Regions from separate parts of the Homo sapiens genome. Here all the other regions are linked to region 1. Evidence: promoter capture Hi-C in 16 types of primary human blood cells and fetal thymus (Javierre and others, 2016). All regions are on one chromosome and are shown on one strand. The core of a region is centred on a gene start or on the middle of the fragment in contact, and the rest is flanking DNA. Distances in the headings are between cores, read along the strand shown.

The links. Contacts are between HindIII fragments. The CHiCAGO score rates a contact against its expected background, and 5 or more counts as called.
Region 2: a fragment that was not itself captured here is called in contact with the fragment with the promoter of PIGR in region 1 in 7 of 17 cell types (non-activated CD4 T cells, total CD8 T cells, naive CD4 T cells and 4 more); the score reaches 10.6 in non-activated CD4 T cells.
Region 3: a contact is called between a fragment that was not itself captured here and the fragment with the promoter of PIGR in region 1, in 8 of 17 cell types (non-activated CD4 T cells, naive CD4 T cells, naive CD8 T cells and 5 more). The highest score is 11.9, in non-activated CD4 T cells.
Region 4: a contact is called between a fragment that was not itself captured here and the fragment with the promoter of PIGR in region 1, in 3 of 17 cell types (naive B cells, total B cells and non-activated CD4 T cells). The highest score is 7.7, in naive B cells.
Region 5: a contact is called between a fragment that was not itself captured here and the fragment with the promoter of PIGR in region 1, in 4 of 17 cell types (non-activated CD4 T cells, naive CD4 T cells, total B cells and 1 more). The highest score is 6.6, in non-activated CD4 T cells.
Region 6: a contact is called between a fragment that was not itself captured here and the fragment with the promoter of PIGR in region 1, in 3 of 17 cell types (non-activated CD4 T cells, naive CD4 T cells and naive CD8 T cells). The highest score is 6.8, in non-activated CD4 T cells.

What each region holds. Positions count from the first base shown.
Region 1 is chr1:206,943,209-206,948,413 of GRCh38, reverse strand. It overlaps PIGR (polymeric immunoglobulin receptor), which reads left to right and starts at 1,948. Exons shown (of 11, transcript NM_002644.4): 1 at 1,948-2,078. The HindIII fragment of the contact is 20,587 bases long and covers 1-5,205 here.
Region 2 is chr1:206,688,285-206,693,489 of GRCh38, reverse strand. The region is part of intron 1 of MAPKAPK2 (MAPK activated protein kinase 2); the gene reads right to left. Among named protein-coding and RNA genes, the nearest start is that of MAPKAPK2, 6.0 kb to the right of the region's middle. RefSeq lists an enhancer at 4,857-5,205. The HindIII fragment of the contact is 2,020 bases long and covers 1,890-3,909 here.
Region 3 is chr1:206,704,936-206,710,140 of GRCh38, reverse strand. The region is part of intron 1 of MAPKAPK2 (MAPK activated protein kinase 2); the gene reads right to left. Among named protein-coding and RNA genes, the nearest start is that of MAPKAPK2, 23 kb to the right of the region's middle. RefSeq lists a silencer at 1-17. The HindIII fragment of the contact is 3,344 bases long and covers 1,469-4,812 here.
Region 4 is chr1:206,752,014-206,757,218 of GRCh38, reverse strand. No RefSeq gene overlaps it. Among named protein-coding and RNA genes, the nearest start is that of IL19, 16 kb to the left of the region's middle. The HindIII fragment of the contact is 2,636 bases long and covers 1,241-3,876 here.
Region 5 is chr1:206,771,633-206,775,050 of GRCh38, reverse strand. IL10 (interleukin 10) reads left to right here and starts at 2,557. Exons shown (of 5, transcript NM_000572.3): 1 at 2,557-2,780. The coding sequence starts at 2,616. All of the region lies in intron 1 of IL19 (interleukin 19), which reads right to left. RefSeq lists cis regulatory regions at 2,307-2,846, 2,307-2,928. The HindIII fragment of the contact is 213 bases long and covers 1,633-1,845 here.
Region 6 is chr1:206,815,975-206,821,179 of GRCh38, reverse strand. All of the region lies in intron 2 of IL19 (interleukin 19), which reads right to left. Among named protein-coding and RNA genes, the nearest start is that of IL10, 46 kb to the right of the region's middle. The HindIII fragment of the contact is 1,257 bases long and covers 2,516-3,772 here.

The DNA.
Region 1 (5,205 bases), core at 699-3,198:
CTCAGGAGTCTGTGATCAGCCAAACTCACCCTGCACCCACAAGGTGGGCAAGGAGAGGCTGAGGGCCTGGAAGACCCACCCCAGGGAGCTCAGTGTATGGACTAGGAGGGCACAGTGTGGACCACAGAACCCTCAGGATGAGCAGGGACAAAGCCCACTGACCAAGCAGGGGAAGTCACATCTCAGTAGACAAAACTATTTCCTTCTGGAGCCCAAGGCCAGCACAGCATCGTGACAAAGCAAGACCAAAATAATAATGGGCCACCCCTTTTCACTGCCTCAGCAGTAACATTGACCACCCCCTCACCCAAGACCGCTCTCTCCAGACTGGACCCCAGGGGAGAGAAGGGAGACAAAAAGGAAGGGAACTCCATAATGAGGCTAAATTTTAAATCTGGAGTGAAGTGACTGAGAGATCACTGAATTGGGCTGAGCTTGCCTAGAAGTGACTAGGTAACTTGTTTTCTTTTATCAGTCAGATTATGGGTTTAGGGTTTGAAATTAAGCTACATCTGGAAGCCATCATCCTCATCAAACTAACACAGGAACAGAAAACCAAACACCACATGTTCTCACTCATAAATGGGAGCTGAACAATGAGAACACACGGACACAGGGAGGGGAACATTACACATCCGGGCCTGTTGGGGGGGGTGGGGGGAGGGAGAGCATTAGAACTAATAGCTAATGCATGTGGGGCTTAATACCTAGGTGGTGGGTTGACGGGTGCAGGAAACCATCATGGCACACGTTTACCTGTGTCACAAACCTGCACGTTCTGCACATGTAATCCTGGAACCTAAAACAAAATAAAAAAAGAAAATCTAAGTTTGCAAACCACAAAAAAAGAGAGAAATTAAGCTACATAAAGAAATTATGGGGTTTTTTTGCTTGCCATTGAAATCTGTGATTGTGTGTTAACACCCACAAGTGAGCCAGTGGTTAGCTAAAATAAGACCCAGGGCTCTGGCTGCCTTGTGTTTCTCCAGGGCTCTATTTCTCTATTTTTCCTTCCCCTTCTGGTGTTTGGCCTATAGGACTCTGTAGGGAGAGCCTGGGTCAGCCCTGCACAGGTAGGATGGGCAGCATTTCTGTGGGGGTTTGCAGTGAGGGGTCGGGGGGCCATACACGTGTGTGTTGGGGAGTGGGCTTCACTTTTGTCACAGGACTGCCACGATCATTTGGGGAACACCTGGGAGTCCCAACCAGGTCATGTTTTGGCATGGACTAACAGATAGGGAAGGAGGTGCTACTTCAGCTCAGCAGGTCAGCACCGTCCTTGCTATGGAGCCGAGCCCGGGTCCTAACAAGACTCTGAGGTCAGCCATGTTCAGGGGAGCCCAGAAGCAGCGAGTCTTTCATGACTCTGGGGAGTGAAACAGGAAGGGCCACAGTCCTGCCAGTTCCTGGAGCTCTGGGACTGGTAAAAGGGGCTTGGCAGGAGGTGTATAAGGGGCATTTTTGTCCAGGCTAAGTAACCTAGGGAGTCGGAGGGGATTCCAGAGCAACTGGGGATATGAGACCAAGGACTACGACAGCCACTCCTGCCACCTGTGCCCCATCAGATGATGTCAACTTCAAATCAAGCATTGGGCCAGGTATTTTAGAGCTAATACCGGGCTATATCCTCTACCTGTAGATTTGGTATTACCATCCCTCTTTTCCAGATGAAAAGAAATAGGAAGGTGACTTGCCAAAGGTCTTGCAGCTAGAAAGCGACAGAACAGCATCTTCACGCTTGACATTCTGTCCCTCATCCTGAAGCTGCAACGATGGAGGATTCCCAAGTAACAGAGTCTCCCCAAGGTCAAAGGAAACCAAATGGAGCCAGCCAGGAAGGCCAAAATGAAAGGAAAGCAAGGGATCTGTGAGAGTCACATGACCCTGGCTGGCCACGGTGCCTGTGGGAGAGTGGCCCTTTAAGAGCCCAGGTGTGGGTCAAACACTGAGCAGAGTTTCAGTTTTGGCAGCAGCGTCCAGTGCCCTGCCAGTAGCTCCTAGAGAGGCAGGGGTTACCAACTGGCCAGCAGGCTGTGTCCCTGAAGTCAGATCAACGGGAGAGAAGGAAGTGGCTAAAAGTAAGTGTTACTGCTCTGGGATCCCCAGACGGGATGCTATCTGGAAAGGGCTCGGGACGATGGCTCAGGTAACCCCCTCCATTCCCAACTCCCAGTCTCCTAGATAGTGGGGTGACAAGGACAAGGAGGCAGACTGTGTGACTGTGTGTGGCTGGGGAGTAAGCGTGCATATCGCAGTGGGACGAGTAGGGATGCACGTGTGTGGAAGCCCCCCATCCTTTTCTGAGAAATATCAGCAGGTGGGAAGGGACCTCTGTGGTCAGCATATGTAATTCTACTCTTTCAGCTTGGTCTGTGCCTGGATTTCCTAACTCCTCATAGTTGATTAACTGTGTGGCCTTAGACAAGCCACCTAACCTCTCTGATCCTCAGTTTCTTAATCTGTAAAACAAAGATAGAAATAACACCTATCATTCAGGGTCAATGTGGGTTCAAATGAGAAAACACAGGTGAAATAGCTTTGTAACCTCTAGAATGAAATAGGAATTGTTTCATATTTTTCAGTTTAGTTTAATTAATCAAGGATTTATTGAACACCAACAGACCTGGAATTAGATAGTGCGCATAAAGTATGGCACCTAGCAAGTCCTCTTCCATTCTTTGAGGTTTCCCACTTGTGGCTTTCTGGCAAAGGCATGTTCAGCTCCTTTTTTCTGGGCTTCCAAGAACCTCTGAAATCCTTTGCAATTCCACCTCGCTTTGCTCTAGCAGATTCCTGCCATGGGAGACATAAATGTGTGTCATCGCATCATCCTGCCCTTCCTAGAGGTAGAAAAAAAGAGGTCCTCACGGGATCACTGAGTGAGGTGGAGCTGAGCCCCACAGGCAGCATGATCAACTCCTGCTGTTCCTCCTGGCTCTGCAGCCAGCAGATCTCAGACATGGGCTTCCCCTCCCTTTGCCCATCCTGACAGCAGCCCAAGCCAGCAGTGGGACCGTCCGGCACAAGGGCAGCAGCGGGTCAAGCTCCATCCCTGACCCCCAGTTCCCTTTGTGCAATTGCCACAGTGCCTGGGGCCATTGAAGCTGCTCCTATTTTGTGCCATCACTTTCCCCCTTCACTAGGGGAATTATAGATCCTTTAACATCTGGAGAGGAGATGCCAATTTCAGGGGTTTAGGTAGAAGGCAGCTGTCTGGTGCCTGGACATAGGTCTTCCCAGAGCCAGATCTGGAATTCTCTCTCCATCCTTGTCCCGCCCCTGGATGTGCTAAAGTAGCAGAAAGAACACTGAGCCAGGAGTCAGGAAAGCAACTCTCTCTGCTTATCTCCTAGTGCCGCTAGACCTCTGTGGCTTTAGGTGATAAAAAATGGGGTCACACAGGCTTCCATTTAGTAAACCCACTTGCCCTGGGCTTTCACACCTTCGTCTCATTCTCCCTTGATACCAACGAGGAGGTAGGCAGGGTTGGTTTTGTGATGTCATTCCCTAGTTGAGGAAACCAAGACACCGTGAGTCTATGTGAGTGGTGTGAAGTCACCAGCAAGTTTGAACGATGAGGTTTTGGTACAGCCATTTTGATATGGTCATGAGGACATTTTGATGTCACCTAAAAAGCAAACTATCCAACTTAAAAAAAAATACCTATGCATTGTGCTCAGCAGAGACCTTCATCTATGTCTTGCCCTCTCTCTGGAGGGGCTGGGGCTGGAGTCCCAATGTCACTGGCATCGACACAGTATGGTGGAGTGGAAAGAGGCTTTGGCGTCAACATGCCTGGTTATACCCATGGTTATGTAACATATCCTACACATGGTAGGTGCTAAATAAATAGCAGCTAATATTTTCCAGGAAGAAATTTCTCTGTTGGCACCTACCTCTGGGTCCAGGTGTCTCTTCATTTTTTAATTTTTTATTTTTTTGAGATGGAATCTTGCCCTGTCACCCAGGCTGGAATGCAGTGGCGTGATCTTGGCTTACTGCAACCTCCACCTCCTGGGTTCCAGCGATTCTCCTACCTCAGCCTCCTGAGTAGCTGGGATTACAGACCCATGCCACCACACCCAGCTAACTTTTGCACTTTTAGTACAGATGGGGTTTTACCATGTTGGCCAGGCTGGTCTTGAACTCCTGACCTCATGATCCACCCACCTCAGCCTCCCAAGGTGCTGGGATTACAGGCGTGAGCCACTACGCCCGGCCCCAGGTGTCTCCTTATAAGAACTGCCTTTTCCGTGAAAGGCAGAGAGGAAAGAACTGAACAAATTCTCAGTTCGCTAAGATTGAATATCCTGCTTCTTCCTCTCTCCACTGCTTCCTCTCAATAGGAAGACCCTCTGAGGTAAAGCAGAGTGGCTAAGGGCCTATGCTCTTGATCTAGAATCCCATCTAAGTCACTTACCAACTGTGCAACCTTGGGCAAATGTCTCACCTCTCTGTGCCTCAATTATCTCACTCATGAAATGGGGTTGCCCATTTTGTCCCATCTCCTATGGTGGCTGTAAAAATGGAACACATTAACACATGTAAAGCACCTGGAAAGGACTCAGCGTACGTTCTTCTAGCCTAGCCCATAGTGCTTGTCTCCTCTCTTATCCACATGAGTCCAACCTAAGTAGCTCACTCTCCATCTCTCTATCTTCAAAGGATGTCCAGCAAGCAGACTTCTACTCTCATACCAAGTCCAGGGGACCTTTCTTCCTCTGAAAAAGAGGGAAACCTGAGATTAGATGGACAAAGGTTTGGACTCCACACCATGAGAGATGAAGTGCAGTCACTTTAACTGAACAGGAGCTAGTTAAATACATTTTATAAAAAGAAAAACTATCCTTCAGCACAGCTTACACTCCTGCCCCAATCCACAATTGTGGGGACATATGTTACACATATGTTGGGATACTAACTTAGTAAACTGAAAATGATCTAGCACATCCTAGCCTCAGCAGTGAAAAAACAACTGCTAGTTTAAGGACCAGAAAACGTGCCCTCATGCATGATATAATATCATATATATAAAACCCAATAAAGCAGGTCCCTTTGCTCATTTAAAGAGTGATAATGGGGTAGTGACCTCAAATTAGGATTCTGCTGTGGGTCTTGGGGTCGAGAATCCCTATAACCCTTAGATTTCCAACCTGTGTCATGAGGATAACAACATCTATCTCTTGGGTTGTTGTGCTGATGGAT
Region 2 (5,205 bases), core at 1,650-4,149, 260 kb after region 1:
ACAGCTTCACGGAGCTTTCATACACACAAATCTAGACACCTGGAGACATAAAAACCATAGCACGTCTCCCAGCACTCAGAAGAGTGAGTTAGCCCCAAATCACCTACCAAGCTCAGGCTGGAAGAGAAAGGGGCAAGCAGGGAGAATATCAGCAGAAAGTGAGAGAAACAGGTCAGCGGTGTGGCAGGAAGCACTGGGACAGCTAACAGGGCCTGGCTGTGAGGGGAGACTGCAGCAGTGGCAGGTTTATTTTTAGCTGTTCGGCAGAGGGGCTGAGTAACAGTTCTGGGCCCTGGGCAGGAGGCCAGGCTGCTAAGGTCCGGTGTGTACTGAGAGCCTCCTAACAATGTGGATCATTAAAATGGCAGCAAACGAACAACTCGATCTTCTCCCTGTAGACAAGCAGGAGGATAAGGAGCCCCGCCGGAGGACGAAAGTGGAGGAGTCGGCAGGGGGACAGTCAGTAGATCTCCTGTTCAGCCCCTCCCCTCAGAGAGACTTCACCTTTGCTTCTGGTTCAAAAGAATCTTCATGGAGATGAGCCAGAGAGAAGGCATCAACAGTACAGCTCCCTCAGCTCCCTCATATGCTCTGAAACAGAAAAGGCTCCCATCGGGTGGCCACTAGCTTCCGCCTCTGGCCACCACTCTTCACCTCTAAGATGAGTCCTGGATGGACACTGGCCACAGAGATGCTTGGAAACGTCCCTCAAGAATAAGATGCCCTTTCATATGACCCTTTTGGAGGGCTCAGGTTCCCAGCAGAATGAGCGCACAGCTTGGCTGGTCTTGGAGGAGAACACCAGATACAAATATGGGCTGACCTTGGGGCCTTGTCCCAGCTCATTCTGGCACACAGAGGTGTTTACTGATCAGACAATAAAGACCCCAAGAACCTTTCACTGCCAGAGGCCCAGCCCAACTTTATGTCTCCTTCTACTGTGGCTTTCTTCCTCCTCCCACCAAACCTGATGGCCCAGCACACAGGACCCCACAGTCTAAACCTCCGGGGCTGAAACAGCTGCTCTAGCCTTGCATGGGCAGGAAGAGGAGGAAAGAGAACAGACATCACCAGGCAACCCCTTTTCCTCCTGCTTCCTTGGATTCCTGATATCTCTTCTTACTCAGCCTGGTCTGAGGGGCTGAGGGTCACCTGAATGTAAATCCTAATTTCCTCATCAGCTCTGTGAATCAGTCCCCAACTCTAACCTAAGAACAACCCCTAATCCATAACCATACCTTTGGTGAATTAGAAGGCACTCCTTTGAAAGAACCCAGCCACACACAAAGACAAAGCCAAGCAAGGAGACAGTGGCTGGACTTCAGCCTTCGCTTAGCTCCTCAACCAGATCCCTGTGCACAGGGAACAGCCTGCACCAGAAATCACAGTGGCCCTCAAATGCCCCATAACTTGAGAAAGGAATCTCAAACAGGGAATAGAGTTCCTCATCTCTACTTTGCACCACCACTACACTATGATTCTTCTGATTTTAAGGAAAGAGAAGATGCACACCCTGCTAAATTACGTAGTCTATCCTCTCTGCCGAGTCACCAGCATAGAACACTTTCTAAGTCTTCACACAAGAGAAGGAGCAGCTGGTCAGTGATGATTATTCATTAACTGGACACAGGCTGCCCTGGAGCCAGGCACTAAGCTTACGAAAGGGCATCTGTGCTGACCCAGATACTGCTGATGGTCAGACCCGGAGCAAGTCAGCAAGCTATCCTGCCTGCCCTCCACCTCTGGCCTGCAGCACCGCCTTCTACTGCCTCACCCTGCCGGTGCTCAGGAGCTGCTCGAGCCGACCCTCTGTGCAATGAGGCCTGGAAAGTTTAGCTGACCTATTCAAGGTCATGTAACTTGTTAGCAGCATACAAACACTGGAAGCTTTCTATTTATGTATGCACTTATTTTTGCTTTCTTATCTAGCACATAACCCATGGTAACAAGCTCATCTCTACATATCTATATCTGTGTATGTGTGTATATATATATATATATATATATCTTAAAATACAAAATACCAGTATTTTCCTAAAAACTAGAAAAGGTACACAGCAATCTGATTTGGGTTCTATAACTGCCATACGTTATTACACTGTCCAGTGACATGGCCCCTTCTCTTCACCAATGCCCCCATTTACAAGGTAACCCATGTGGAAAGATCCTAGCTGATGCGTTAGTGGAGCTCAGTTTTGCTCCACCAGGTCTACAGTCTTCTAGCAACCAAAAACCAAAGGGGCCCAGACCAAGAGCAGGTCCCAGGGAACCAGGTCTCAAGATGTGGCTCGGATGCTGACACCATGTAAGACCTTGGACATGCCACTGAACATTTCTGCACTAGGCCAGCTTCTTCCTCAGTGATGTGCAAGGAGTCAAGAAAGATGACCAGGGAGTGTGGGTTCTAAGTTACTATGAAGTGTGGGTTGCTTTGCCACTGGGCCTCAAACCATTACCAAGAAAAGCTGCAGTCCCTGCAAAGAACAACTCTTCTCTGCCCATCCACCTCCCTCCAGGACACAGAACCATCTGGAAAGATACAGTGCAGGGAAGAGGGGGAAAAGAGACCTCACATGACACTTGGCAGGGCCTGAAGTAGAGGAAAGGTAGGAGAATAGAGTGAATCCTGCACCACAGACATCACGCCACCAGGAAGAACCCCAGCTCAGAGCATGGCAAGGCTGCTTGGGAACTGGGCAATGGCTCAGATGCAGACGACTGTGCCCTGCTCTTCCCCATCTTGGCTGACATTCCTCCTGGCACCCACTCAGCACACTCCTGGGCTCTGGCTAACAGGAGCTTTGGCCCCTCCCCTAGCCCAAGGATTAAGTTTGCCTCCAGCAGTTCTGAGGCTGGGCTCTTCCAGGCCCTCCTCCCAATCCCCTGTACCTGCTTCATAAGAAAAATCATCAATTATGGATGGCCCAACCTCTCAGGTCCCAAGTAGCAGAAACATCACAGGTCCCAATACCTTCCTCCTCCCACAAAGGGGTTCTTTTGTTTCCTAGACACCCACCAATATTTGGCCCTAAGGCCCAGGGACTGCTTGTCTCTCCCCTCCTGTCAGCCACTGATCCCGTATCTTAGCTGGAGATTGTCTCCAAGCTCAGTCAAAGCCCAGAATTCACAAGTAAAAAAGGACAGTGAGCTGACCCAGCTTCAATCTTGCCTCAGTGGATGCCAAGGGCCCTGCTGCAGGAGCCAGGGGTCAGGGCTGGGGTCAGGGCTACGGCCAGGAGGGACAGGATCTCTGAAACCACAAACCTGACCCTTCCCTCATAATTCTGTAAGCCCATCTTCAATGATTCCTAACCTTTTTTGACACCTTCATGCCCCTCAAACACTTTAAAGCCTGCTTTGACACAAGATGAGTTAGCTTCAATTTGGAGCCACCAACCCCTGACCACTCTGACCTCCTGTTCCTCCCCTCAGTTCTAGCCAGGCCAATGTCACCACACCTCTCACAGACTTGCTCACTCCTCAGAGGCACAGCCATGTCCCACTGACCCCAGCTGGAGCCTCCCTTAGCTCCTGGAGTCACCACAGATTCCCCTCTTTCAAAGCTCCTCTATTCCCAGCCACACGATTTAGCTCCCAGACCAACAAAGTCTAGGAGAACGTTCTGCAAGGATGAAAATGTTCTTCTGCATTGTTCAATTCGATAGCCATTAGCCACATGTTTACTGAACACTTGAAGTGTGGCTAGCAACTGATTTTTCAAATTTAATTTAGTTTAATCCATTCATGTTAATTAATTTTAATTTAATTAGCTATGTGAGGGTAGTGGCTACCAGATTGGACAGTGCAGCCCTAGCCTACATGTGTTAATTTCACCTTCTCTAAATAAGTTTCTTGACTCAAAATTTTACAGGCCATTTTTTACATGTGTATCCTCCATGCAACTAAGCTTATGATAGATATTCAGCAAACTGTTACCTACCTGTAACCATATTGCATATAAAAGAGGCTGGCTTGGTCAATGAAATTTTCCTAACCTTGTGACAACTCCAGCAAACTCCAGTTTGGGACACTGCCTCTCACCTAGCCACACTAACTGTCTTGCCCTCCACAGGTACACAGTATGAGGTGTGTTGGAAAGGAGATGGTGCCTGTACTGTGGGGATGTGGGAGCTCTGGCATTTCCCTCCAACAGCATCCAGAATAATCATGAGAGGCTCCAATCATCTCCCCTTCACCAGAACAAAGGAAGCCACATCGCAGTGGCACTTCCATGACCTAGGGAGAGAGGAATGCTGGAGAAAGGAAAGGAAAAGAAACTACAGGACCTTGTTTTCTCTAATCCACGCAATGGAAAGATACACAGAGATAAGTTACGACAACATTCTATATTTTATAAAGCAGTAACATGCTTCACCTAATCAGAGTTGCACAGCAGAGAACAACGATACAGTCTTTAATTAAATTTGTTGAGCTAACACCTAAGGGTCACCATGACACAGTGAAGCGGCAAGCAGCTGAGGAACCCTCCCGGGGAATACAACTAATTAATACACAAGTGGGTTGAGACTAGGTGTCCTTATCAAAGAAGTAATACAGGCCGGGCGCGGTAGCTCACACCTGTAATCCCAGCACTTAGGCAGGCTGAGGCAGGCAGATCACGAGGTCAGGAGATCAAGACCATCCTGAATAACACAGTGAAACCCCATCTCTACTAAAAATACAAAAAATTAGCCGGGCATGGTGACGGGCGCCTGTAGTCCCAGCTACTCAGGAGGCTGAGGCAGAATGGCGTGGACCTGGGAAGCAGAGCTTGCAGTGAGCCAAGATCGTGCTACTGCACTCTAACCTGGGCGACAGAGCAACACTCTGTCTCAAAAAAAATAAAAATAAAAATAATAGAATTCCCATGTTCTTGTACAAAAAATAGTAAGTAAGGTGCCTATCAAATACTCTCTTAAAAGGGGGAGGGAGTGGTTAAAAAAATGCATGAAGCTACTGTTGAAGTTCCCCTCCAACTTTGGGGACTGTTCTCAGGAGCAGCAAATACCCATCCAGCCCCCTTCGCTGACCTCCCCTCTTGTCAGTCAGGGCCTGAGGTGACAGAACAGCTCCTCAGGCTGGAAGCACCCTGGAGCAGCAGGTGGCCATGTGCCTGAGCCCGTGGCTCAGTTAGGAAGTAAGTGGGAAGAAGCCTGAGACTGGGAGTCAGGCAACCTGGGTTCCAATCCTGCCTCTGCCAAGTGA
Region 3 (5,205 bases), core at 1,891-4,390, 240 kb after region 1:
TAACCAAACCATAGTAACTGAAATTCACACAGATTAGAACCATGAAAAATGAGGACTGTCCATAGAAAGAGCATAATCTGTAAGTATATATGCTAAAGAGCTGGCAGTGATTACCTTTCAGGAAGAGCTATATTGTTTAAATTTTTTCTCGGTGACTAAGCTCTACACCTTGGGAATAGTTCTCAACCTGGTGTTAATTTGCCCCCCAGGGGACGTTTGGCAATGTCTGAAGGCATTTTCTGTTGTCATAACTTGGGGGCATGGGTAGATAGATGGTTGCAACTGGCATCAAGTGGGTAGAGGCCAGGGATGCTGCTAACTCCTACAAAGCACAGGACAATCCCCCACAACAAACAAAGGCTTATCTGGTCCAAAAGGTCAACAGTGCCAAAGCTAAGTACCCTAGTTTTAAATCAAGGAGTTTTTATTAAGCTAATTTGAATAGTACCTTTCTCACCAAGTGGTAGGCAAAAACTAAATGACACAATGGCAAGTAGAAAGTTCATAATAAATGCCATTAGTATCAGAGGCTCGGACTGACTTCAAGCTGAATGGATATCTTAATATGACCTTAGATTTGTGGTATTTTTACAAACATTAACTCATCTGATCTGATGCCATGACGTGGCTGCCAAAAAGTTAATATTTCCTTCAGCTCACAGATCAAGTACCTAGCTCAAGACAGGGATCCAAATGCACCCACACTCTATATTTCTCCCATACCTAGAATCCACATGTAGATCACATCGAGCAGCGAGAACTCAGTTCTGGGCAACACATCTGTAAAAGAGTATTATACTTCCAGAGGAGGACAACCAGGATATAAAAGATCTGAGGAGCATAACATAAGAGCAACAGTTCAATAAACTAGGGTGAATTGCCGGAAGAAGAGAAACCCTGAAGGAGCAACTGAGGGACTGGATGTGATAACAGTCCTAAAATAATTGGGTGCACAGTACAATGAGAGGGCAGGGCAGAGAGTCAGATAGGAACAATAAGTAACAGCCTCCTGTAACTCTGCAATCACACTCCTCGTTGTTTACCCAGGAGAAATGAAAACATTACATCCACAACAAGATTTGTGCAAGAATGTTAACAGGAGCTTTATTCATCATAGCCCAAAACTGGACACAGCCCAAATGTCCATCAACAGGGGAATGGAGAAGCAAATTTTATCATATCTATACAATGGAATACTGCTCAGCATAACAAACTACTGATACATGTCACCATGCAGATGAAATTCACACAAAAGGGAGAGTTCATACTGATTATCCCATTTATATGAGGTTCCAGAAAAAGCAAAACTAATCTACAGTGAGAAAACATCAGAACTGTGATCACTTGCGAGGGGGTATGTGTTGGGATGATTGGGAAACAACACGAGGGAATTAATTAGGTAATAAAACTTTTTGTTCTATAGTTGACAGAGGTTTGGGTTGCACAGATAGAGGCATTTATCAAAGCTTATCAGGTGATACCTTAAGAGTTGTGCATTTTTCACTGTTAATATAAATATTATCATCAAAAAAATGCATGAACAAATATTGAACTCAAATTAATGCCTATGTATGCTGAGATGTTTAGGGGTAAAGTACATTGATGTCTGCAATTTACTACAAAATGCATCCCCAAAATAAGATGGACTGGTCAATGGATAGAGAGATTGAAACACGTAGAGACATGATAAAGTAAACATAGTAAAAGGCTAATGGTTGAATCTAGGTGGTTTGGTATAATCATGTTCACTGTACAATTCTTTCCAGTTTGCTGCACATCTGAAATGTTTCATAATAAAAAGTTGTGAGGAGGAATAGGAAGTAACAACAGGTGGGGAACACCACAGGGGAAACAAGAGGTGGCTGGGAGGTCACAGGAGGAAAGCGCAAGGGGAAGAAGAGGGCTGGTTTCAGCCAACACAGGGGCCTGCGGAGGGCAGAATTGCAAAAGGCCAGGGTGACCTGGGAACAGACAAACTTAGCCAACAGGGAATCTTAGCATATGTGAGGCTGCTACCCAGACCTTTACTGTTGTTAGTTCTTGTTCTGACTGTGTGATCAGAGCAAGTAAGTCCCTGCCCCTCTCTGGCTGTGGTTGAAGGGATCAATGTACAATGTAGGGATCTGTTTAAAGGATCCCTACTTAACGCTTTCCAGCTCTGTCAGTCTATTCTTCACAGCATTTGTGGAAACCATTTTTTTTAGACAGGAATCAAAGAATGTAGAGACACAATTACAGCTTCAGCAAAATCCAGCTGGTTTCACATAGGCAAAATGCAAGAAGTCTCCTGTTACATCACTGTATTCTCAAAGAAAGGACCTGGGTGCAAGTAGCTCTCAACTGTCTCCATGTGGACTGTCCACTTTGTAGTTTAGCCACAGCAAATGCTAAATCAGTGAGCAGGAGCCCCATGCCCTACCCCCAAACCCCCACACACACCCAGCAGGTCTCTGGGGCACAGAATCTGAGTGGAGCCAACATGTTCCCCACCTTAGGCATCTTGGCGGAAACTAAGGTGCAGAGAGTTGCAGGCATTTTACCAAGGTTACACAGTCCATTAACACAGTGAGGGCTACAACCCAGGGCCCAGGGCAGACCATGTGGATTCCCCAGAAAAGTGCTGGGATCCAGAGAATCCTCCCCAATTTCAGTGCCTACAACCAGCCCCTTTTTTCTCTACCTTTGCTGCTCTGGTTTCCAAGGAAACCAGAGTCTGGTGCTTCTGGCTTCACATCTTAAAGAAGAGGGAGAGATGTATGTTTCTCAAACCAAAGTCTATTACCTCACAAACCAAAAACAACCTCTGGCAGAACTTCCTTCCCACCATTCTCCATGGGGGAGAGATGGAGTTGGGAACAGACTACTTAGTGGGGGCCTGGAGGAAGTCTCTGGAGTGCCTGGGGGTGGGGGAAGTCCTGCTCCCACCCTGGAATGACTGTGGTCATCACCTAGGGGAAATCTGGGATCCTCATCATGCAGGACAACAGGATACCCCGTCTAGGTCCAGATGTGCCACAGCTGCAAGCAGGGCCCTGACAGGAAGTGGAGGCCCAACAAGAAGAAGACCTGTGGGAGAGAGAAGAGCGCGGCTGCAGTGCCGTTCCCTCCTCCAACTACATGCCTACTAAGCTCCAGCTGGAGCCGCAAGGCTGCCAAGCTGTTCGGGGCTGACGGATGGAATGACAGGTGAGGGGAGAGAATGAATGAGGGGTAGGGAAGGGGCTCAGACACTGCCCTGCCTTCTAGCCCCAAGGGGTAGGGAAGGGGCTCAGACACTGCCCTGCCTTCTAGCCCCGAGGGGCTGCAGGTAAATGCTCAGCACTCAAGCCAGGACCTAGAAAGAGCACATCTGAAGCCACTTCTGAACAAGTAAAGCCCCACCCACGGGCAAGAAAAAATTTCCATCATGACCGATTTGTCTAGAAGTGGCCTGAACGTCTTCCCAGCAGCGGTGATGCATACCCAGCTGAGGGGAAGGAGGGAGTCATCTGCACACTTCTGCTCCCCAGGCCTTCTCCATCCTTACCCCATACCCGCCTCGGTGAGCTCAGAGGTTCTTGGCAAGGGCTTGCTCCCTGGGGACCACAGCAAGCCCACGGGGGTCAGAGCTGCTGGTCCCCTCCAGAGAGCCTGGAGCCTGGGAGTCTGCAAGTACAAGCCCAGTTGGCAGCTGCAGCTAATACTCCCGATTCCCAAACCAAAGCCCGGCCCACCCAGACGTCCTGCAGGGTGGTCGGGATAACTGCAGAGCAGCATCTGCCCTTTCTCCACTAACAAAGAGGCAATGATCAGAGGGACTGGCTTTGCTCCTCCCCCATCTGAGTGACTCTGGGTCTCTGTGGCTGTGGCCAGGGAAAGGCAGGGAGAGGGCAAGAAGGAATGGGAGATGAAGGACACCTCCCCTAGCTCCTTCTGGGAACAGACTAACTCCTGTCCCTGTGGGAAGACCAGGAGGGGAAAAGCAGCCTTTTAAGATTAAGCAAATAAATAAATAAATAAATAAATAAATAAATAAATAAATAAATAAGAGATAGGAAATCCTGACCCCGCCTTAATTACACTGGAAGTGTATAATCCTCAGGAAGAGTAGCTGATTCCCACCCCACACTCCCATTTACTCCCAGTTGCCAGTTTCCTGAGAAATAACCACTGCCTCACAGCGAAGCTGCACCAGAAGGGTGTTGAGGCCTGCAACAGGCTCCGGGAATTCCCTAAGCCTGGGTTTGTTCCAAGCGAAAAATCCAGTAAAGCCTCCCAGTCATTTCTCAGGAGTCGGCCATCTGCAGGACCCATCATTCATATCCACCTCCGACCAACGTTCCAAGCACAAGTCCAGCCAGGACTCTCGAATTTTCAAACTCCACAAACTTCCATAAATCCAGTTCACAATTCTGAATTCCTCCTTGAATTTAACCCAAAATGCCTTTGTCTCAGCTCCCTGGGTAACGGAGAGCTAATCGCCTTTCTGCCCTGGTCCACCCTCCAGATGCCCTTGGGTTGGTGGAGAAAGGAGAAAGCATCCAGCCCACCTGCTTCTTCCTGGCTGTCCCTCAAGAGTCAACACAATTGCACCCATCGGAAAGGAGAAGGCAGAGAGATAAGGGAGCTAAATCTTGTTCCCCTCTGCTTCCAGGATTAGCAAGCAGCTGCCTCAGAATCACCAGCCTCTCCCTTGTCCAATACCCAGGCACTCTCGGCAGCCTGGCCCTCCAGCAGGAGTGTCTACTCATGCAACCCCATGCTGCACATTGCTGCTTCCCAGGCATGACAGATGCAGCTGCTATTCAGTGTTTTCATGCCAGGACAAAAGCTTCTCCAGAAGCACAAAGCCAACAGGGAGGCAGACAGAGCTGATTTCAATAGAAGCCACCTGCCGGGGCCCCTCCTCTGCCACACCCCTCCCCCCAACCCACCGTACATACACATGCAAACATACATACACCTTTTTCAAACCTCTCCAACTTGTGCTGACCCAGAGTCAGGTGACTTTTGCTCTGAATCACTGAACAGTTCTCCCAGAGAAGGGGGGCTGTTGCCATTTCTCAAATAGTATTCCGTAGGATGTTAATAAGTGCTAAGTAAAAAGGGGTCATATAGATGGCAGAAGCACCAGGTTAAACAAAGTTAAACAGATTCTTTCACTGTAGAACTTCTCAGAGCTTTTAATTCAGTAATGTGCATTGCAGACTGTTCCCCAGTTTAGAT
Region 4 (5,205 bases), core at 1,309-3,808, 190 kb after region 1:
AGATTATGGCTTGTTCTATAATGAGCAGAAAATAGGTTCTATTGAAATTAGTTTGAGGATTATTTGTGCATGAATTTTTGCCTTCAAAGTCAGAAAAATATTTTCCTTGCTCTGATTTTCTTATGTTGTATTGAACTGTCACTTTTGTTCATATGTCGCATGCAGTTTCACTCAATTTAAATAGACAATTTTCTCTAAAATTAAAACAACATTTTAAAAAGTAAATCTATTTTTGTTTTTGTAAGCTTTTGATAACATTATTGATATAAGTGATACACAAAAACTTTATGGTAGCAAATATAAAATTAATCTTGTTTTTCACCAACAACTACAATTCACTCTTCATTTAAGGATCTTCTAATGTTTCACTTATACATCTTCTGTCTTGTCTAGACTAAGTCTAATTGCTTTAGTAGCATTATTTTAGGGGAAAAGGGAATTGTTCATTTCCCTCCATGGGGTTTAGAAAGTAATTTCACATTTCATTTATGTTGTATGTGCTCTGACTTCTCCACCAACTGCCTGCTCTTCCAGCTCTCTCCTTCTCCTAGGACCTCTCTATTATTTGAGATGTAACAATATTGAAATTAGGCCAAATAATAATCCTACAATGGTCTCTAAGTGTTCAAGGAGAAGGAAGACTCACACATCTCTTACTTCAAATTAAAACCTAGAGATGATTAAGCTTAGTGAGGAAGGCATGTTGAAAGCTGAGACAGGCCAAAAGCTAGGGCTTTTGTACCAAACAGCCAGTAAATGTGAAGGAAAAGTTTCTGAAGGAAATTAAAAGTGATACTCCACTGAATACACAGATGGTAAGTCAGTGAAACAGCCTTATTGCTGATACAGAGAAAGTTTGAGGGATCTGGATAGATCAAATCCACCACAACACTCCCTTAAGTCAAAGCATAATCCAGAGTAAGGCCCTCACTCTCTTCAATTCAAGGTCCTTGCTCTGGATTAGAAGAAGCTGCAGAAGAGAAGTTGGAAGCTATGAGTAGTTGGTTCATGAGGTTTAAGGAAAAAGAACCATCTTCTTAACGTAAAAGTACAAGGTGAAACAGCAAGTGCTAACGTAGAAGCTGCAGCAAATTAAACAGAAGATCTAGCTAAGATCATGGATAAAAGTGGCTACATTAAAGAATGGATTTTCAATGTAGATAAAACATTCTTATATTGGAAGAAAATGTCATCTAGGGCTTTCATAGCTAGAAAGAAGTCAATGCCTAACTTCAAAGCTTCCAAGGACAGGCTTACTGTCTTGTTAGGGGCTGATGCAGCTGGTGACTCTAAGTTGAGGCCAAGGTCCTTTTTTATTTTTATTTTTATTTTTTTTTTGAGACGGAGTCTCGCTCTGTCACCAGGCTGGAGTGCAGTGGCGAAAACTTGGCTCACTGCAACCTCTGCCTCCCAGGTTCAAGTGATTCTCCTGCCTCAGCCTCTCGAGTAGCTGGGACTGCAGGCATGCGCAACCATGCCCAGCTAATTTTTGTATTTTTAGTAGAGATGGGGTTTCACCATGTTGGCCAGGATGGTCTTGATCTCTTGACCTTGTGATCCGCCCACCTTGAGGGCATTTACCATTCTAAAAATCCTAGGACCCTTAATAATTATACTAATTCTACTCTGCCTATGCTCTATCAATGGAACAATAAAGCCAAGATGACAATACATCTCTTTACAGCATGGTTTACTTAATATTTTAAGCCCACTGTTGAGATCTACTGCTCAGAAAAAAGATGTTTTTCAAAATATTACTGCTCATTGACAATGCTCCTGGTCACCCAAGAGCTCTGATGGAGATTTACAAAAAGGTGAATGTTGTTTTCCTGCCTGCTAACATCTACTCTGCAGCCCCTGGATCAGGGAGTAATTTTGGCTTTTAAGTCTTATTATTTAAGAAATGCATTGTGTGAGGCTATAGCTGCCATAATGATTCCTTTGATGGGTGTGGGAAAGGTAAATTGAAACCATTCTGGAAAAGATTCACCATTCTAGATGCCATTAAGAACACTCGTGATTCATGGGAGAAGGTCAAAATATCAACTTTAGCAGAAGTTTGGAAGAAGTTAATTTCAACCCTCATGAATGACTTTGAGGAGTTCAAGACTTCAGTGGAGGAAATCACTGCAGATGTGGTGGAAATAGCAAGAGAACTAGAAATGCAGACTGAAAATATGTGACTGAGTTGCTGCAATCTCATGATCAAACTTGAACAGATGAAGAGTTGCTTCTTATGAATGAGCAAGGAAAGTGGTTACTAAGAGGGAATCTACTCCTGGGGAAGATGCTGTGAATATTGTTGAAATGACAACAAAACATTTAGAGTACTCCATAAACATAATTGGTAAAGCAGCAGACAGGCCTGAGAGAACTGACTCCACTTTTGAAAGATGTTCCACTGTAGGCAAAATGCTATCAAACAGCGTCACATGCTACAGAGAAATCTGTTGTGAAAGAGTCAATCAATCCAGCAAACTTCACTGCTGTCTATTTTAAGAAATTGCTACAACCACCTCAGCCTTCAGCAACCACCACCTTAATCAGCAGCCATCAACATCAAGGTGAGACCCTCCACCAGCAAAAAGATTACAACTCACTGAAGGTTCATGTGATCATTAGCATTTTTAGCAATAAAGTATTTTCAAATAAGATATGTATATTGATGTACTTTTTTAGGCATACTGCTATTGCACACTTAATAGACTACAGTCTAGTATAAACATAACTTTTACATACACTGGGAAACCAAAAAATTTGTGGGACTGGCTTTGTTGTGATATTCACTGTCTTGCAGTGGTCTGGAACCAAATCCACAATATCTCTAAGGTATGTCTGTATAGCTAAGAGCCTGAATGAAAAGATGAACCAAGCAGTCTAAGTTCAATAATGCAGGAAATAAAGGCAGGAGAGAGCTGAAAAAAGAAAAGGAAGCATGTTGATCATGAGGTCAAGGAAGAGTTGTAGTGGGAGTATCTGAATCACTAAAGAGAGGAGGCTGTGGCAAGAGAATGGAATGCTCAAATGAAGGGATTTTTGGAGGTGGTATCATTTTGAGGAATAACAAAATCCAGGCTGTAACCGTTAGAGCAAATTGCTGTGTAGAGGCAAAGAAAAGGTCATTGGAGATATAAAAGTCACAGAATTGAAAAGTCACATTTGGATAAGTCAACCACAATGGTATTGAAGCCCATCAGACTCACAGCAGTAGAAGGAAAATCAGTAGAAAGCAGTAGAAGGAAAAATATAAGTGTTCAAATCATTTGTGAATGAAGGAGAGGGAGAAGATATTTGAGCATCCTGGAATTTCTGATAGATTCTAGTTTCCACATGTGTAGTATTCTCAGAGTTTCATATACTGGACAAATGATCATTCCAGATTTCTTCAAACTTTTTTTTTTTTTTTTTTGACAGTCTCACTCTGTCACCCAGGCTGGAGTGTAGTGGTTCATTCCAACCTCTGCCTCCCAGGTTCAAGTGATTCCCATGTCTCAGCCTCCCAAGTAGCTGGGATTACAGGTGCATGCCACCACACCTGGCTAATTTTTCTATTTTTAGTAGAGACAGGCTTTCACCACGTTGGCCAGGCTGGCCTCAAACTCCTGGCCTTGAGTGATCCACCCGTCTCGGCCTTCCAAGGTGTTTGGACTACAGGAGTGACACCATGCCCGGCTTAGATTTCCTAAATCTTAGAGGAGAATAGATTTAGATCTCTTGAGAAGACCCCGTAACACAATTGGAATTTCCTAATAAATGAAAGGACCTCTATGTTTATAAATATATCTTACCAGATTGAAGTCACTTTTATGTCATAAAAGTAACGCATGTCCAAGCGTAAACCACACACAAACTTAGAGTCACCCAGCTTAAGAAGCTTTTATTTTTGGCCAGGATGAATCATCATTCAATGACACATCCAATGGGGAAGCTCCAGCAAATCTCCAAAACAGACCTTCCTTTTGTGGTACAGGTTCTTAGTCCCTTGAGTCTCTTCTCTCTCACATATTACCATGGAGCTCAATCTCTTTCCTACACAGCAAAAAGATGGAAAATCACCATCAAGAAATTGTTTCCTAGGAGGCCGGGCACAGTGGCTCACGCCTGTAGACCCAGCACTTTGGGAGGCCAAGGTAGGTAGATCACTTGAGTTCAGGAGTTCAAGACCAGCCTGAGCAATGTGGCAAAACCCCATCTCTACAAAAAAAATACAAAAAATTAGCTAGGTGTGGTGGTACATGCCTGTAATCCCAGCTACTTGAGCGGCTGAGGTGGGAGGATCGCTTGAGCCCGGGAGTTTGAGGTTGCAGTGAGTTGTGATCATGCCACTGCACTCCAGCCTGGGTGACAGAGCCAAGACGCTGAAAAAAAAAGAAGAAAGAAAAGAAAGAAAGAGGGAAGGAAGAAAGGACGGATGGAAGGGAGGGAGAAAGAAAGAAGAAAGAAAGAAAAAGGAAGGAAGGAAGGAGAAAAACAAAGAAAGAAGAAGAAAGAAAGAAAGGAGGAAAGAAAGAAAGAAAGAAAAGAAAGAAAGAAGAAAGAGAGAGGAAGGAAGGAAGGAAAGGAGAAAGAAAGAAGAAAGAAAGAAAAGGAAGGAAGGAGAAAGAAACAAAGAAAGAAGAAAGAAAGAAAAACAGAAAGAGAGAGAGAGGGAGGGAGGGAGGAAGGAGGGAGGGAAGGAAGGATGGAAGGAAGGAAGGAAGGAAGGAAGGAAGGAAGGAAAGAAGGAAGGAAGGAGAAATTGTTTTCTCAAGTCTAATATAAATCTCTTGAAGAAAATAGACGTCCTGGAGGGTGGAGGGTGGGAGGAAGGAGAAGATCAGGAAAAATAACTAATGGGCACTAGGCTTAATACCCGGGAGATGAAATAATCTGTGCAGTGGACCCTCACGACACAGGTTTACCCATGTAACAGACCTGCACTTGTACCTCTGAATTTAAAAATTCCAAAAAAGAGGCTTAACTTTCCCTGTGAGCATTTACTTTAGAAAACTTGTAATTTTAAGTTCTTTCTCTACCTGTTTGAAATTATGTAAATCTTTTTAAAAGGTAAATAAGCCTCTTGCCAGCTTTCTTCCCTTCAGGAATGTCTTTCTCAAGTACCCGGGAGCCATCTCTTTGAAATGCAATCATTAAGGAAGACAGTGCCCCTACTTCCCGTCTCTTCCGGAGAGTAGGAGCCTAACGTGGGCAGGCACCTCTCTCCAA
Region 5 (3,418 bases), core at 490-2,989, 170 kb after region 1:
AAAAGAAGTCAGATCCTAACCTCAACCCTATTTAACAGATTATAGATGAAAGAAAGGTACAAATGGCTTTTACATACCTCCCTTCTCCCTGACATTTTGTATGTGTGTGTGTGTGTATTTACACACACATCTCATATAAGGAAATTGAAGGGAGGCTGCCTGCATCCCTGAGTCACTCTCCCTCTCCTTCTGAATGCTTACCTGTGCCCAGACCACCTCCTTAGCCTCGCACCCTCCAGGCTTACAGGGCACTCTTCTATGCCCATCCCAAGTATAGCTGATACCTTCCAAGGGCCAGACTTGGTGCTAAGTACCAAGTACGCAAAGATTAATAAAACAATGTCCTGTTTCAGGGAGCTCAAAGCTGATTCGGCAGGGCATGGTGTGTACATGAATGATAACCACGTAGGGTTGCAGGTTTCCTAGTGAGGTAAGCACAAGGCAAGATGGGAAACAAAGGAAGGAGGGGTTCACAGCCTCACCCAGAGTCCAGAACCCCTGGCCTGCCTGGTGCCCATGCTGAGTCCACTTCTGGAACACCCAGCTCAGAGAGGGGGTTAGACCTGCAGGCTAACACAGACACAGCCCAGAAAACCCAGGAGCCGAGGGGGAAGGAGAAAGGTGCAAGAAGGGGAAACCCAGGTCCTGGTCCCCTTCTCTCTGCTTCCTGGCAGCAGAACTCAGACAGAACCCTTAAGCCAGTCTAAGTCTGGCAGGACCAGTAAGTTCTGAGTTAGCTCCATACTAGTTTCTAGCAGGCTCTTTCTCACTTCCTGATTCTTAGGTTTCTACATTGACACTCCCTGAAGAGTTGGGAAGAGACACCACAGTCCCCTGACCCTGATCCATAGGTCACACAGCAGGGACATCCACAGGGTGGGCGTGGGCCCTCTCATCCCTCCCTCCCACTCACTTCACGCTGGCTGGGCCCCAAGGTGTTTGCACCCCTTGCAGTGAGTGACCTTCTCTAGTGCAGCAAGCTCAGAACCTGCTGCCACTGGAGTTGTCCCATTGCTGATGCAGAAAGGTGAAGAACTAGCAGAACACTGGAAATGCCCTCCATCTGGGTCCATGGCTACTTAAGCTCAATGCTCCCTGGCAGGCAGGAGGACAGGTGCTATTGCCCTGTTGGGACAGATGAAAAACAGACACAGGGAGGATGAGTGATTTGCCCTGACTATAGAGTGGCAGGGCCAAGGCAGAGCCCAGGCCTCCTGCACCTAGGTCAGTGTTCCTCCCAGTTACAGTCTAAACTGGAATGGCAGGCAAAGCCCCTGTGGAAGGGGAAGGTGAAGGCTCAATCAAAGGATCCCCAGAGACTTTCCAGATATCTGAAGAAGTCCTGATGTCACTGCCCCGGTCCTTCCCCAGGTAGAGCAACACTCCTCGCCGCAACCCAACTGGCTCCCCTTACCTTCTACACACACACACACACACACACACACACACACACACACACACACAAATCCAAGACAACACTACTAAGGCTTCTTTGGGAAGGGGAAGTAGGGATAGGTAAGAGGAAAGTAAGGGACCTCCTATCCAGCCTCCATGGAATCCTGACTTCTTTTCCTTGTTATTTCAACTTCTTCCACCCCATCTTTTAAACTTTAGACTCCAGCCACAGAAGCTTACAACTAAAAGAAACTCTAAGGCCAATTTAATCCAAGGTTTCATTCTATGTGCTGGAGATGGTGTACAGTAGGGTGAGGAAACCAAATTCTCAGTTGGCACTGGTGTACCCTTGTACAGGTGATGTAATATCTCTGTGCCTCAGTTTGCTCACTATAAAATAGAGACGGTAGGGGTCATGGTGAGCACTACCTGACTAGCATATAAGAAGCTTTCAGCAAGTGCAGACTACTCTTACCCACTTCCCCCAAGCACAGTTGGGGTGGGGGACAGCTGAAGAGGTGGAAACATGTGCCTGAGAATCCTAATGAAATCGGGGTAAAGGAGCCTGGAACACATCCTGTGACCCCGCCTGTACTGTAGGAAGCCAGTCTCTGGAAAGTAAAATGGAAGGGCTGCTTGGGAACTTTGAGGATATTTAGCCCACCCCCTCATTTTTACTTGGGGAAACTAAGGCCCAGAGACCTAAGGTGACTGCCTAAGTTAGCAAGGAGAAGTCTTGGGTATTCATCCCAGGTTGGGGGGACCCAATTATTTCTCAATCCCATTGTATTCTGGAATGGGCAATTTGTCCACGTCACTGTGACCTAGGAACACGCGAATGAGAACCCACAGCTGAGGGCCTCTGCGCACAGAACAGCTGTTCTCCCCAGGAAATCAACTTTTTTTAATTGAGAAGCTAAAAAATTATTCTAAGAGAGGTAGCCCATCCTAAAAATAGCTGTAATGCAGAAGTTCATGTTCAACCAATCATTTTTGCTTACGATGCAAAAATTGAAAACTAAGTTTATTAGAGAGGTTAGAGAAGGAGGAGCTCTAAGCAGAAAAAATCCTGTGCCGGGAAACCTTGATTGTGGCTTTTTAATGAATGAAGAGGCCTCCCTGAGCTTACAATATAAAAGGGGGACAGAGAGGTGAAGGTCTACACATCAGGGGCTTGCTCTTGCAAAACCAAACCACAAGACAGACTTGCAAAAGAAGGCATGCACAGCTCAGCACTGCTCTGTTGCCTGGTCCTCCTGACTGGGGTGAGGGCCAGCCCAGGCCAGGGCACCCAGTCTGAGAACAGCTGCACCCACTTCCCAGGCAACCTGCCTAACATGCTTCGAGATCTCCGAGATGCCTTCAGCAGAGTGAAGACTTTCTTTGTGAGTATGATTCCTTCCTGTCCTTTCTCTCTTCCTGGGACTGCCTGAACTAGACATTCTCCTGGAACTATAAGAACCCTCCTCCTGCGCCTCCACCTCCATCCCCAACACCTATTCCCCCAAACTTAAATTCTTAAGAGAATCCTAGATCAAGCCATGGGTTTGGTGAGTTAAGCTAAGCCAGATGATACAGTAAATGTGCAGGAAACCTGCCTTATAAAGTAAATGCGTTCTCTCTCGTGCTGAGAAACTTATAAGATCCTGCTGGCGCTCTATACTTTATTGGCTAGGAGAAGTAAAGAAATGTCTGATTCGAGGTGAAGATGCTCCCCATGCCTTGCAGCAGGGAAATTTAAATTGCCTCTGCTTAGAGCGTTTCCAGACCTGAAAGACCAGTGGTTTAGGGAAGCACTCTACATGAGGGAAACCTGCATTAGAAGGAGCTTCTTAATCCCTGGGATCTTTCCAAGCTAAACTGGATGTCTACAGTGGGGAGAAAGAAAAGCAGAGAACAGGACATGAGGGGGGCTCAAGGCCCCGAAGGGTTGACATAGGTGTCCCTTAAAGCCGAATGTAGCTCCGCAGAAAGAAGACCAGGACTGAGTCAAGCTTCTGCTTTCCCTTCAAAATCGGCCAGA
Region 6 (5,205 bases), core at 1,895-4,394, 130 kb after region 1:
GTATCTTACACACTATGCTATGGTCTGGGAATGCAAAATGACAACAATTTCATCCCCTGAAGAGCTGAGGATCTCATGGGAAAGACAGGCAAACAAAGAGGATAATCCATTACAGTGGTATAAGTGCTTTGAAAAGGGGAAATAAAGCATGCTGTGGAACACAGTAGAGAGACAGTAATGCAAACCAAGTTGTGTGGGGGCAGGGGATATCAGGGAAGGCTCCTAGGTAGAGGTGACACCTTGGCTGAGTCTTTGAGGATTCATGGAAAAGGACAGGCACACTGGATGGAGCCCTAGAGATGGTCAATGATGGCACATTGTGGGAAACACATGTTGGTCAATATGGGCAGTGTTTGAAAGCGGGGTGGGGAGGAGGCGGCAGGAAGCCATGAGAAAAGCTGACAAGACTCTCAGAGTTGTGCTAGAGGAACCTCATTGTGCCAGTCCACAGCTGTTCTTTAAGCTCAGCCAATGCCACAGTAAAGTAGAGGCCCACTGTTCTCACCCAGCCATGTCCACATTTCAAATTCATCAGCAAATAAATGATTGCTATTATTTGAAGCCGCTGTTGTGGGATGGTTTGCTTTTAGCAACAAATTATCAAACAACCACTTTAGAGGTGAGGGCAGCAAGGAGGGCTAAGTGGAAATGACAAGCATCAACACTGGTGCCAATATCTTGATCTTTCTGGCCCTTATGTTTGGTTAGAAGCAAACATTGTTTGGCTAACATCTGGAAGTCATTTATAACCAGCATATGATTCTAGATGGTGCTAGTAGGTCTTTAGGCTCCAAATATAGAACATATCCCTCAGAATCTGGAGATAAGAGTAGAAATGGGTTGGTATGCTGGTATCTTGAAGGTTACAGACTGGTAAACTGATGTCAACCTCAAGCGGGAGGGTTTCTGATAGCCGACCACAGGCCTTCATCCTTTCCCTTGTCTTAGCAATGATTTTTATCGATCACTCAGATGAAGTTTAGGGGGGCCATATTTATCAAAGTCAGTAAATACATGAAGCTTGGAAGGCGAGTGAGCATATGGAATGACAGGATGAGGATCCTAAAATATTTTGACAATCTGGAGCAATAAGCTTAATCCAACAAGACAAAATTTAGGAGGGATAAATATAAGACTCCATGGTTGAATATGAAAAGAATCCTTCACAAGTATAGAAGGAAAGGGGGATGGCCCAGTCACAGGAGATATGAGACCCACATAAGAACTTAGGCTTTGGGGTTAGATAGACATAGGTTTACATGTTAGGTATACCAGTTAGTAACTGCGACCCTTGGAAAATTATTCAAGCTTCTCTTAGTCTTTCCCTGCAAGAATTAGAGATAATTCATATAAAGGACCTGGCAGTTTCTGGCAAAAGTAAGTGCTCAATAAGCGGCCAGTGAAAGATCTAAGTTGCTTGTAATAGTGCTGAGTCTCTACATAGCCCAGGAAAAAGCTATCCAAAAGAACTTTCTCTAATGGCAGAAATGTTCTATAATCTGAACTCTCCAATATGTTGGCCTCTAGCCACAAATGGCTATTGAGTTCTTGGAATGTGCCTATTGCAACTAAGGACTGAGTTTTCCTTTTTTTTTTTTTAGACGGAGTCTTGCTCTGTCACCCAGGGTAGAGTTAGTGTCACATCTTGGCTCACTGCAACCTCCGCCTCCCAGGTTCAAGGGATTCTTCTGCCTCAGCCTCCCGAGTAGCTAGAACTACAGGCACACACCAACACACCCGGCTAATTTTTGTATTTTTAGTAGAGATGGGGTTTCACCATATTGGCCAGGCTGATCTGGAACTCCTGACCTCGTGATCTGCCCGCCTCAGCCTCCCAAAGTGCTGGGATTACAGGCGTGAGCTACTGTACCCAGCCCAGTTTTACATTTTAATTGTAATTAATTTAAATTTGGATGGCCACTTGTGGCTAGTAGGTTATTATATTGAACAGTGTGGGTTAAGATGATGTTAAGAAATGCTAAACTCTGAGACAGGAGGATTGCTTGAGCCCAGGAGTTTGAGGCCAGCCCAAGCAACACAGCAAGACCCATCCCTTAAAAGAAAAAATAAGCTGGGTGTGGTGGCTCACGCCTGTAATCCCAGCACTTTGGGAGGCCAAGGCAGGCAGATCACGAGGTCAGGAGTTCGAGACCAGCCTGGCCAACACAGTGAAACCCCATCTCTACTAAAAATACAAAAATTACCTGGGCGCTGTGGCAGGTGCCTGTAATCCCAGCTACTCAGGAGGCTGAGGCAGGAGAATCGCTTGAACCTGGGAGGCGGAGGTTGCAGTGAGCCAAGATCATGCCACTGCACTCCAGTCTGGGCGACAGAACTAGACTCTGCCTCAAAAAAAAAAAAAGAAAGAAAAAGAAAAAAGAAAGAAAGAAAGAAAGAAAATACAAACTCTAAACCTAAGTAAGATCTGGAGCAGAGAAACAATTTTCACTTTTCTTTATAAACTTCTAAATGGGCTGACTTTTTATTGTAACGAAAGTGTACAATTTGATAAGCTTTGGCATATCCAGACATCCATAAAACCATCACCTCAATTAAACTGTGAACATACTCAGTAGCCCCAGCAGTTTCTCCTGCTCTATTTTAATCCTTTTCTCCTACCCTCTCACCCACATCCCCACTCCAACCCTGCTCAGGCAAGCACTAATCTGCTTTCCGAAAGTATAGACTAATTTGGGTTTTCTAGTATATTATGTAAATAGAATCATACAGTATGTAGTCTTTTTTGTCTGGTTTCAACTGAACATAATTATCTTGAGATTTGTCCATGGTGTTGCATGTATGACCAATTAATTTCTTTCTAATGCTTAGTAGTAGCCATTATATGGCTATGCCGCAATTTGTTTGCCCATTCTCCTTCTGATGGACATTTGAGCTACTTCCAGTTTATCGGCCCAGAATATGGTCTGTCTTGGTAAAGATTCTGTTTGCACTCAAAAAGGATGAACATTCTAATATTGTTAGGTAGAGTGTTCTATATATGTTAATTAGGCCAACTTGGTTGACAGTGTTATTTAAGTCTACTATATCCTTGCTAACTCTGCCTCCTTATTCTATGGATTATTGAGAAATGGGTATTGAAATCTTCTACCATAATTGGCCGGGCGTGGTGGCTCACGCCTGCAATCCCAGCACTTTTGGAGGCTGAGGCAGGCAGATCACTTGAGGTCAGGAGTTTGAGACCAGCCTGGCCAACATGGTGAAACCCCATCTCTACTAAAAATACTACTATTAGCTGGTAGTGGTGGCACACGCCTGCAATCTTAGCTACTCAGGAGGCTGAGGCAGGAGAATCGCTTGAACCCAGAAGGCAGAGGTTGCAGTGAGACAAGATTGCACCATTGCACTCCAGCCTGGGCAAAAGAGAAAGACTTTGTCTCAAATTAAAAAAAAAAAAAAAGAAATCTTCTACCATAATTGTAAATTTTTCTATATCTCCTTGTAGTTCTGTGAAGTTTTATCTACTTTAAAGCTCTGTTATTAGGTGCATAAACACTTAAGACTGTTATGTCCTCTTGATAAATTTACCTCTTTATCATTATGAAATGACCTTCTTTATCCCTGGTAATATGCCTCTCTGAAATATGTGTGATAGAGATATAGATGAGATTTATGCCTCTAGATAAATAGGTAGACATATGTAGATAGCCAGCTTTCTTTTGACCATTATTAGTGTTACTGCACAAAAGTGTCTTGCTGCTGGATGTGCTAGAAGCCAATATAATGACATTGAGTTTTTGAGAAAAGAAAAGCTTTATATTGCAAGTTGACTCACAAGAAAATAAGAGTGTCAAGCTCAAATCTGTCTCCCTGTGCTGGCTTCAAGACAATATTTATTTTAGGAAAAGTTCAGGGGGTAGATTCTGAGATCAGTAGGTGATTGGTGGAAGGAAAGGGAGGTCTGGAAAGTCCTTAGGCATGCGCAGTTATCTCTTCATGCTAGATCACAGGTCTCATGTGCAAATCAGGGGGAGTTAGTATGAAACATATGGTGGAAATTTAGGCTGTGATGTCAGCAAGCTCATTCTGTGCAAACTCCAGTAGGCCATCTTGGTTCCAACTGATTTCAGCCAGTTTTTTTTTCTTGATATCAGAAGCCAAGGGAGTTTCAGCGTTTCAGCAAGTTGCTTCTTATCTGATATCCTGCCAGCTCAAGAGTTTCTGTTAGTTACTGGTTTCTTACTCTTTGGTGCACAGTTTCAGTTTCAGCTTTTCAGCAAGTTGTTTCTTTTCTTATCTGCTATCTTATAAGCCCAAAAATTTAGTCATTGGTTTCTTTAACTCACTGAGGGACAGTTCATTAGCATAGTATATCTTTCTCCATTTTCTGCATTCTTTCACTGTTAACCTATTTGTGTTTTTAAAGTATGTCTCTCATATAGTTTGTTCTCACGTATTTTCTTTAAAAATTCAGTCTGATTATGTCTCCTTTTTAATGGTCATATTTAGGCCATTTGTATTTAATGTGATTATTGATATGGCTAGGTTTGGGGCTATCCTCTTGCTATTTGTTTTCTATTTGTACCATCTTTTTTTAAATACCTTTGCCCCTTTTTCTGCCTTCTTTTGATTTCATTAAGTATTTTCATTATTCCATTTTATCTCCTTTGTTGACTTATTGTATATAACTTTGTTTTATTATATTAGTGGCAGTGGCTGCTTTAGGGTTTCATATGTACCATATGCTTTTAACTCACCACAGTCTGCCTTCAAATCATACTATATATTTCATGTAAGGTATAAGAGCCTTATGATAGTGTACTTCCGTTTCTTCACTCCCAGCTTTTATGCTATTATTTTCATACATTTTACCTATACCTATTTTATAAATTCCAAAGTACATTATTTTTTAAAAATAATTATCTTTTAAAGATATTCTTAAAATCTTATACATTTACGCATGTAGTACCATTTCCAGTGCCCTTTATTTCTTTGCATATATTCAGAATTCCATCTGATATCATTTTCTTCCTGCCTAAAGGACATTAGTGCAGGTCTGCTGGCAATGCATTTTTTCAACTTTTATATGCCTGAAAAGCCTTTATTTCATCTTTATTTTTCAGAGATAATTTCACTGGATACAGAATTTTAGGCTGGCAGGTTTTTTTGTTTTGTTTTGTTTTGTTTTGTTTTCAGTACAGTAGGTCCTCAATGTCATCAGTAGGTTCTTGGAAACTTTAAACAAAA